3 separate regions of the Homo sapiens genome follow, and regions 1 and 3 are each linked to region 2. The links are contacts of gene promoters, found by promoter capture Hi-C in human tissues and cell types (Jung and others, 2019). All regions are on one chromosome and are shown on one strand. Each heading gives the region's core, a stretch centred on a gene start or on the middle of the fragment in contact. The rest is flanking DNA. Distances are from core to core; before and after follow the strand shown.

What was found. Contacts are between HindIII fragments. The study calls those that stand out against the background at their distance.
Region 1: a fragment that was not itself captured here is called in contact with the fragment with the promoter of FGFBP2 in region 2 in 3 of the 25 tissues and cell types used here (adrenal gland, aorta and spleen).
Region 3: a contact is called between a fragment that was not itself captured here and the fragment with the promoter of FGFBP2 in region 2, in 3 of the 25 tissues and cell types used here (spleen, stomach and thymus).

What each region holds. Positions count from the first base shown.
Region 1 is chr4:15,916,851-15,919,550 of GRCh38, forward strand. No RefSeq gene overlaps it. Among named protein-coding and RNA genes, the nearest start is that of FGFBP1, 21 kb to the right of the region's middle. The HindIII fragment of the contact is 3,961 bases long and covers 1-2,700 here.
Region 2 is chr4:15,961,899-15,964,598 of GRCh38, forward strand. FGFBP2 (fibroblast growth factor binding protein 2) reads right to left here and starts at 1,277. Exons shown (of 2, transcript NM_031950.4): 1 at 540-1,277. The coding sequence starts at 1,231. The coding sequence ends at 560. RefSeq lists an enhancer at 1,307-2,148. The HindIII fragment of the contact is 18,537 bases long and covers 1-2,700 here.
Region 3 is chr4:15,899,986-15,902,685 of GRCh38, forward strand. No RefSeq gene overlaps it. Among named protein-coding and RNA genes, the nearest start is that of FGFBP1, 37 kb to the right of the region's middle. The HindIII fragment of the contact is 6,221 bases long and covers 1-2,700 here.

The DNA.
Region 1 (2,700 bases), core at 137-2,636, 45 kb before region 2:
TTTGCCATGCTCCTTCTTTTCCACAGGTAAAGTGACCACAGCATTCCATCTGCCCAGGTCCTGGTGTGAGAACCCCACAGAGGAACACCCCCTTCCCCCCAGGCTGATCTGAGACAGGGCTAATCTGAGACAAGGCTGATCTGAAACAGGACTGATCTGAGACAGGCATATACAGCTGGCCCTTGAACTACACAGGTTTGAACCATCCAGGTCCACTTACATGTGGATTTTTTTCAATAAATATATTTTTTGTAGATTTGTGACAATTTGAAAAAACTTGCAGATGAACCACGTATCCCAAAAATATAGAAAATTTAGAAAAAGTTAAGTATGTTGTGAATGTATAGAATACATGTAGATACTAGTCTATTTTATCATTTATTACCAGAAAATATACACAAACCTATAATAAAAATTTAAAATTTATCAAAACTTACACAAACACTTACAGACCATACATGGCGCCATTCACAGTCAAGAGAAATGTAGATAAATGTAAGGATGCAGTATTAGATCATAACTGCATAAAATTAACTGTAGCACATACTATATGTACTACTGTAATAATTTTGTAGCCACTGCTGGCTGCTATTACAGTGAGCTCAATTGTTGTGAGTATCCACTCTAAATGCCTTGTGACGCTAATCAACTCCACATGAACAGCTCATTTCTCCAGCATTTTGCTTATTGCAGTAAATAGTGATAGTGTGTGGTTCTCAAGTATTTTACATCATGTTAAGTGCAATACCCTAAATCTTGAATAACACCAGGGGATCCCATACAAAGGCAGTGCCATTTAGTGATGGTAGAAGGCCTCCCAAGAAGAAAAGTCACAAGCTGACATACAAGAAAACGTCGAATTGCTAGATATGGACCATCAATTGAGGTCTGCAGTTGCAGTTGCTGCCATTTTAGATTGACTGTTCATCTTGTAAACTTACAGAATCAATAAATACAGTACAGTACTGTAAATGTATTTTCTTTTCCTTATGATTTTCTTATAACATTTTCTTTTCTCTTGCTAACTTTATTTTCAGAATACAGTGTATAATACATACGACTACAAAACGTGTTAATTGACTGTTTAGGTTATTGGTAAAGCTTCTGGTCAACAGTAGGTTATTAAGTTTTGGGAAAGTCAAAAGTTTGACTGCACTGGGGTTTGTTTGTTCCGCTAAGCCCTGCATTATTCAAGGGTCAACTGTAGCAGGAACTGCTGTTCCCATTGCATAATAGGAATTATTAATGTCCCATATTACAGAGGAGGGAAGGAGGGTGAGAGTGGCTAAATCACTTGCCCAGGTTCTCGCCTATTCAGAAGTAGAACCAGGATCTCCCAAGTTCCAGTGGGAGATCTCGTCACCGATGAAGCCCCTTTTGCACCGTGCAGGAATATACCTAGGCAGAGTGAAAAGCTCAAGAGTTTTGCTGTTAGACCTGGATCAAATTCCAGCTTTGCCATATCCCAAGGAGTCCTAGTTTTCCTGTCTTTAAAATGGCAACAACAACAAAATCTGTCTCACAAGTTTCTGGGAGGGGTGAAATGAAATGAACTAGGATAGAAAGCCCTGGCAGGCATGCAACAGAGACTTGGTCAGGTAACCTTGGTTCTTTCCCACAGTCTGGCTCTCCTTTTTGCCCCCTGGATTGGCCACACCTGCTCTCACCTCTGAGCCCTTGCTCATGCTGTTCTCTCTGGTTATAAATCCCTCCCTGTCTCCTCCTCTTATCTCACTCAAAACCCAGCTGAGATTTCAGCATTTCCATGCAGACTCCTCCCTTATACCTGTTCTTCTTTCCGCACTTGGGACTCTGCCAGCACTTGGCATTTAATCAGCCACAGTGGATTTAAGTGTTTCACTTGTGAGTGGCTTATCTCCCACATTACACTAGATATTCCTTGAGGGCACTGACCAGCCTCCTGCATCCGTCCGTCAGCTTGGCCCAGCCACAGCTCTGTCTCTTCTTGGTGAGTGGCTCTGGGCACTTGCCCCTTCCCATCACTGTGCCTAATCCCTCTCCTGTACACGGTGGGGACCACTGGAGGAGCTCTGGAGACTCCCTCTTGTGAACATTAGGTGAGTAAGTGAAACTGGGCTGAGTCTACAATAGGAAGTGACCAGCAGGAACTGGTTGGGTTTTCCAGTAACCCCTATGGACCAGACATTGCACCCAGTACCTTGGAACTTCTCTAGTTGTCAGAAAGGCCCTAGGACATTGTGTGTTTATAGCTTAAGAATGTGAACTTTAAAGGGATACATAACTTAATTGGCAATAATTGGTTGAGAATGATTTCTTACTGATGATCACATATTTTTTACGCCATGCACTGTGCCGGGAATTCAGAGAGATATATAAGGCAGACATGGCTATCATAGGTACAAATGGTTGGGGCCGACTTCGCAGGTGGTAAAAAAATTTACCAAGACAGTTATAGGTAAAGAAAGGCAGATTTATTAGACAAAGTATGAAAATATGTTGCAAGGTTGCAACAGGCAGCAACAGCAGAGAAGGGGCTGTGTGTAAAGAGGCAGGGGCTGGAGGGAGCTAATTTCGGTGGGTTGTTTGTGATTAGCCATCTCTCAAATAACAATTGTTCATTTTTCTTCCCCACGTGGGGCCCTGCCCTACCTGGGGCCCCTTCCTAGTGACTGCTTACTTACCAGGACTCCAAAATGGTCCCCAGCTTGCTTCAGAGAG
Region 2 (2,700 bases), core at 27-2,526:
TCCCCACCCTAACTTGACTGTAGGAGAAAAAACTGAGAACAAGACGGGGTGTGGCGACACCTCCACCATGACATAGCACCTCGGCCACTAACAGCTGCAGCAAATGCTTGGTTCATTAGGAAACGTTACCCGGCAGAATTCCAAAGGCCTCGGTCTAACAGTGAGGTGGTTCCATCACAAGGAGATTCTCAACCTTGGCTGCACATTCAAATCACTTGGGGGAGAGTTTTAAAAGTCCACATTCCTGCGCTACTATGTTGGAGACATAGATGGAACGGTCTGGCGAGGGGCCTGGGCATCAGCATTTTTAGAGCTCCTTGTAGGTGATTCCTATGCAACTCCAGGGTCAAGTGCCACTCCGGATGAACTACCTCATCTACACTGCTCTGCAACAGACAGCCTCAAACCCACCCCCAAACACACGCTGAGACTCTGATGTGGTCGCAGCAGCTGTGAAAGTGCTAAGTGCCTCTCACGTAGTCTCTGTATATAAGTATATACACGTAGTCTCTGTATATGAGTAAAGGAAAGGGTATTACCTGTAGGGGTCTTTCACCTGTCACCCTCGGAAGAAGCTGATGAGAAAGGCGCACAGGGCCTGGAAGGGTTTCCAACAATGTTCCCAGGCCTTCTTCTTTGCTTCCTCATTCCCTCCGGGCCTGGGTCCAGGCTGGGTAGGTTTGGCTGTGGGTCGGGTGGTGGGTTTGGCTTTTCCCAGCTCTTCCATCGAGTCCTTTCCCAGCTGTGTTGCTTCTGTGAGTTTCACTGTGGCCTTGGGCCTCAGAGATGGCGTCCCAGCCTCAGGCTGCTGGTTGGGCTCTGGGCTGCCCTTGAGGCTGGAAGTCACCTGCTGCATATGGGCCTGGGGTCCAGCCTCCCTGCACACGGATGGCCTAAGCACCGGGGCCCCCTGGCACGCATGGTGAAGGCGCCTCAGCTCCTGCAGGGCTTGATTCCAGTAAGGTTTGGGGTCAGCAGCGAAAGCCTGGCACATGCTGGGCTGCCCCCTGTACTCACACCAGTAGGTCTGGTCTGTGTTGCGGCAGTCGACACGAAGCCAGACTTCTCCAGCACCTTGCCCCAAGCTGCTGGGACGCATAGTGCAGGAATCTCTCCCTCCAGTCTGGAAATGGAATTCCTCCCCAGTGCTTCCTTGCTTTTGCCTCGGGGCCTGACCCAAAGTCCCCAGGCAGGACAAGGTCACCAGCAGGAGGCAGGGGACGAACTTCATGGCGATACTCCGATAAACTTGCTTGCAACTCTGCACCAGGAGAGAGAACACAAGTGGGACGAGTCACCCTTTAAAGGGTGCTGCACAAAAGACTCTTTCTCTGCAAGGGTGGGGAGGATGTTTTGCAGCAAATGAGAAACATGCCCACAGACCTTAGACACGTAACACTTGGCAAGGGCAGAGCAGCCACCAGGGGCCGCCCACCACAAGCAAAGGGAATGGTTTTCCTGAGTGCCTCAGAGAGATCTGCCCCAGCCCTGTCACGCACAAAGCGCCACACACAGCTTTGGGGCTGAGGGTTTTACAGTTTTCCAACCACAGGGTGCTTGCTCTAAAATTGGCCCTTGTACGGGAACAGCCTTCTTTGTCAACATTTGGTATATGCCAAGGTGTGGCAGTGGTATTCTGGAAAGTGAGGTTTGCAGCTGGGAGTCTGGGCTGCCTCGAGGCTCCCTCCTGCTCCCTGGAATCCCCATCTTGGGGGACCATGGGTTTAGTTAATCCAAAGGAAGCCAGAATTTTATGAGCCTAAGTGTTATGAGATGGCCTAGCAAATGCAAAAAAGACTATGTGAGGTTGTGTGAGGATGTGTGTGCCAGAGGGACACAGAGACACTCCCCCTCCCACCCACCGAGCTGAGAGTCACCTGGTGTGGCCTCTGTGGGGCTGTCCCGCCATCACCGTGGCCACAGGCCACAGTGCTGCAATGTTCACTTCCCTTGTTATTGCATGCCTTACAATTGCACCAACTGAATGATGACGAGGAAGGCATGCAAATATATGTTCACAGTGGGATTCAGTCTATTTTAGACCATGAATTCTATTTCAAATTCAATTGAAATAACACAGTTTTAATTATATCACAGGAAAATATGATTTTAAATATTATTATTATTGTTCTACAATAGAAAAAAAATAAATTGAAAATAACTTTTGATTCTGTGTCAAGAATCATAGTTTGGTATGGTCATAACTGTCTTTTGATGACCCTTCCAGAGGGCACTGTGGAGTGGACTAAAGGTGGCAATTTGCTGTTAGGAATAGGGTTGACGGATGTTGGGGGACTAGTTTGAATGTGAGGGATTTATCTTGGCGATCCCACGTAGGGTAGTTGGTACCTGGCACAGCCTTCCTTCCACCTGGATATCCTGAGTCCTGAGAAGACCTAGTAGGGCTGGAACTAAAGCCAGGCTGAGCTTCGGCAGCCACTGTGTGTGTAGCAGTGAGAGCCTTCCAGAAGAGGGCATCACCCCAGGTGGGGAGCAGAGGAAGCTTCCAAGAAGTGGTGCCAAACCTTCAAGACAAGTCAGTCAATTTGTCAGGTTGAGAAAGGGTAAAGGGCAGGTGTTTTTTTTGTTTGTTTGTTTGTTTGTTTGTTTTGGCCTCATTCTGTCACCTAGACCGGATTGCACTGGTGTAATTATAGCTCACTGTAGCCTCCAACTCCTGGGCTCAATTACTTCTCCTGC
Region 3 (2,700 bases), core at 187-2,686, 62 kb before region 2:
GAATGTCTTAAAATATAAGCAAAATAGAAAGATTGTACAATGAACTCCCAGAAACCCTTCAGTCCAGTTACACAGGAGTCAACATTTTGCCATCTATACTTATTTCTTTCTCTTTCTTTACTGTCTATTTCTCCTTCTTCATTCATTTTCTTCCTTCTTCCCTTCCTTCTTTTTTTCCAGTAAGCTGCAGACACTATGATACCTTGCCCCTAACTGTTCCAGCAAGTATTTCCCAGGAATAATAATATTCTTCTACTAACCACATTATCATAACTAAGAATATTAATAATAATTCTATGATATAATCTACTATAAGGACTATATTCAAATTTCTCCATTTGCCTCAAGAATGTATTTTATAGGCTGCTTTATTAGGATCTAATCAAGTATCATATATTACTTTTGGTTATGTTTCCTTTGTCTGTTTTCACCCAAAGCAGTCCCTTTTGGATTTTTTATGCTTAACATTGCCTTGTGAATAATCTAGCCAATCTATAAAGCCAAACTAAGAATTAGCTGATTCAATAACATACTAAATCTTAGTTTGCCTGGTTGCTGGTTGCTTCCTTCTTTTTTCTCTTTTTCTCTTTCTTTTTCTTTTTTTTTTTTTTTTTTTAGACAGGATTTTCTTCTGTGGCCCAGGCTGGAGAGCAATGGCATGATCTCAGCTCACTGCAACCTCCACTTCCTGGGCTCAAGAGATCTTCCTGCCTCAGCCTCCCGAGTAGCTGGGATTACAGGCATGCACCACCACACCCAGCTAATTTTCCATATTTTTTGTAGCAATGGGCTTTCGCCATGTTGCCCAGACTGGTCTTGAACTCCCGGACTCAAGCAATCCATCCACACTGGCATTCCAAAGTGCTGGAATTACAGGTGTGAGCCACCATACCTAGCCCTGGTTATTTCTTTCTAATATCATTTAAATCATTCCTTTAGTCGCTGTATTTCTTGTAATCTTAGATTCACATTGAACACTTTTGCCCAAAATATTTATATATTAGCTTCCCATTACCACTGTAACATAGTATCACAAATTTAGTGGCCCAGAACAAGACAAATTTATCATCTCACACAAATTTATTCTGATTGGGTCCTCAATCCTGCCATGCAGTGTCTGCTGCTTCTTCCTTCTTCTCCTCCTTCTTCTCTTCTTCTTCCTCTCCTTCTCCTTCTCCTTCTTCTGCTGCTGCTAATGCTTCCTCTTCCATTTCCACTTCCACTTCCACTTCTTCTTCTCTTCTGCTTCTGCTTCTTCTTCTTTTTTTAGAGACAGGGTTTTGTCCTGTCGCCCAGGCTGGAGTACAGTACTGGAAATATGGCTTGCTGCAGCCTTAACCTCCTGGGGTCAAGCCAATCTTCCTGCCTCAGCCTCCTGAGTACTTAGAAGCCCTACACAGGTCTCAGCGGACGAAAATCAACATGTCGGCAGGGCTATGTTCTTTTCTAGGAGTTTCAGGGTACAATCTGTTTCCTTGAGTTTTTTATCTTTTAAAGGCCACCCACATTCCTTGGCTGTAGCCCCATCTTCCATCTTTAAAGCCAGCACCATCATCTCTTTTTGTCCATACACATTTCTCTCTGACTACAGCTAGGAAAGGGTCTTCTCTTTTAGGGGTTCATGTAATTAGATTGAGCCCAACTAGATATTCAAGATGCCATCCCCATCTCAAGTCCCTTACCTTGATATGGAAATTTTCTTTGGTCGTGGAAGATAACATATATGTAGGTTCCAGGAATTAGAACATGGACACCCTTGTTGGGGACTGAACAGTATTCTGCCTCCAGCTTCATAGGGGATACTTTTTATGTCATCTTGCTGAGAAGTCCATTAGGAAACTGTCATCTTTTAGTGAGGCCAAATTCAGGGCATTTAAGTGTAAATTGGAGAGGGAGGCAGTTAACCAAGCTGTGGGTCTCAGAACTACCTCAAAGTGGCAGGGAGGGGATTTTAAAAATGTAGCTGTCAGAGCCTCATAACAGAGATTCTAATTCATTAGGTCAGGCCTGGCAGCTGCCATATTTGCCATCCAGAAGTGGGTGATTCACACCTGCACAAGCCTGGAGCCCATCCCTGAACAACCAGGCACCTGTAGTCCCAGCTACTAGGGAGAGATAACAGGTGGAGGCTCATTTTCTTGATCCCCTTCTGAAGTTGGCCTCTCAGGGACACCTCGCTGGTGGAGTCTTTTCCCAATTTGTCAAAAGTCATCAGCAAGAATGAAAGCACAGATGACAGTCAAAGCGAATGAATTTTCTAAGGGAAGTGGTTACTGACAGATTTCCTTTCTCAGGGTTGGTGGATTTACTCATCTTGGTCAAAGGCAAGGAAAAGGTGGGTAGCAACATCTATTTGCCAACTTTTATGGCAATATTTAGTATTTAAATTATATGGATAGATTTTGTTAACAATTTTTTAAATTAAAACGGCAATACATGAACGTTAAAATTTTTTAATGCAGATGTGTATAAAGTAAAAAGACTTTCCCCCCAGTTATCCTCTTTTAAACAGCTACTGTTATATTTCTTTCTAGTAATATATTGTGTATATAACAAACATACTTATATAGACATGTCCATATTTTTCTTATACAATTGAGAACATCTTGCACACACACTGTTCTGTATTTTGCCTTTTCCCCTTGGGCCTGATTTTATATCAGCCCAAAATATCTTCTGCATCCCTTTTCACAATTGCAA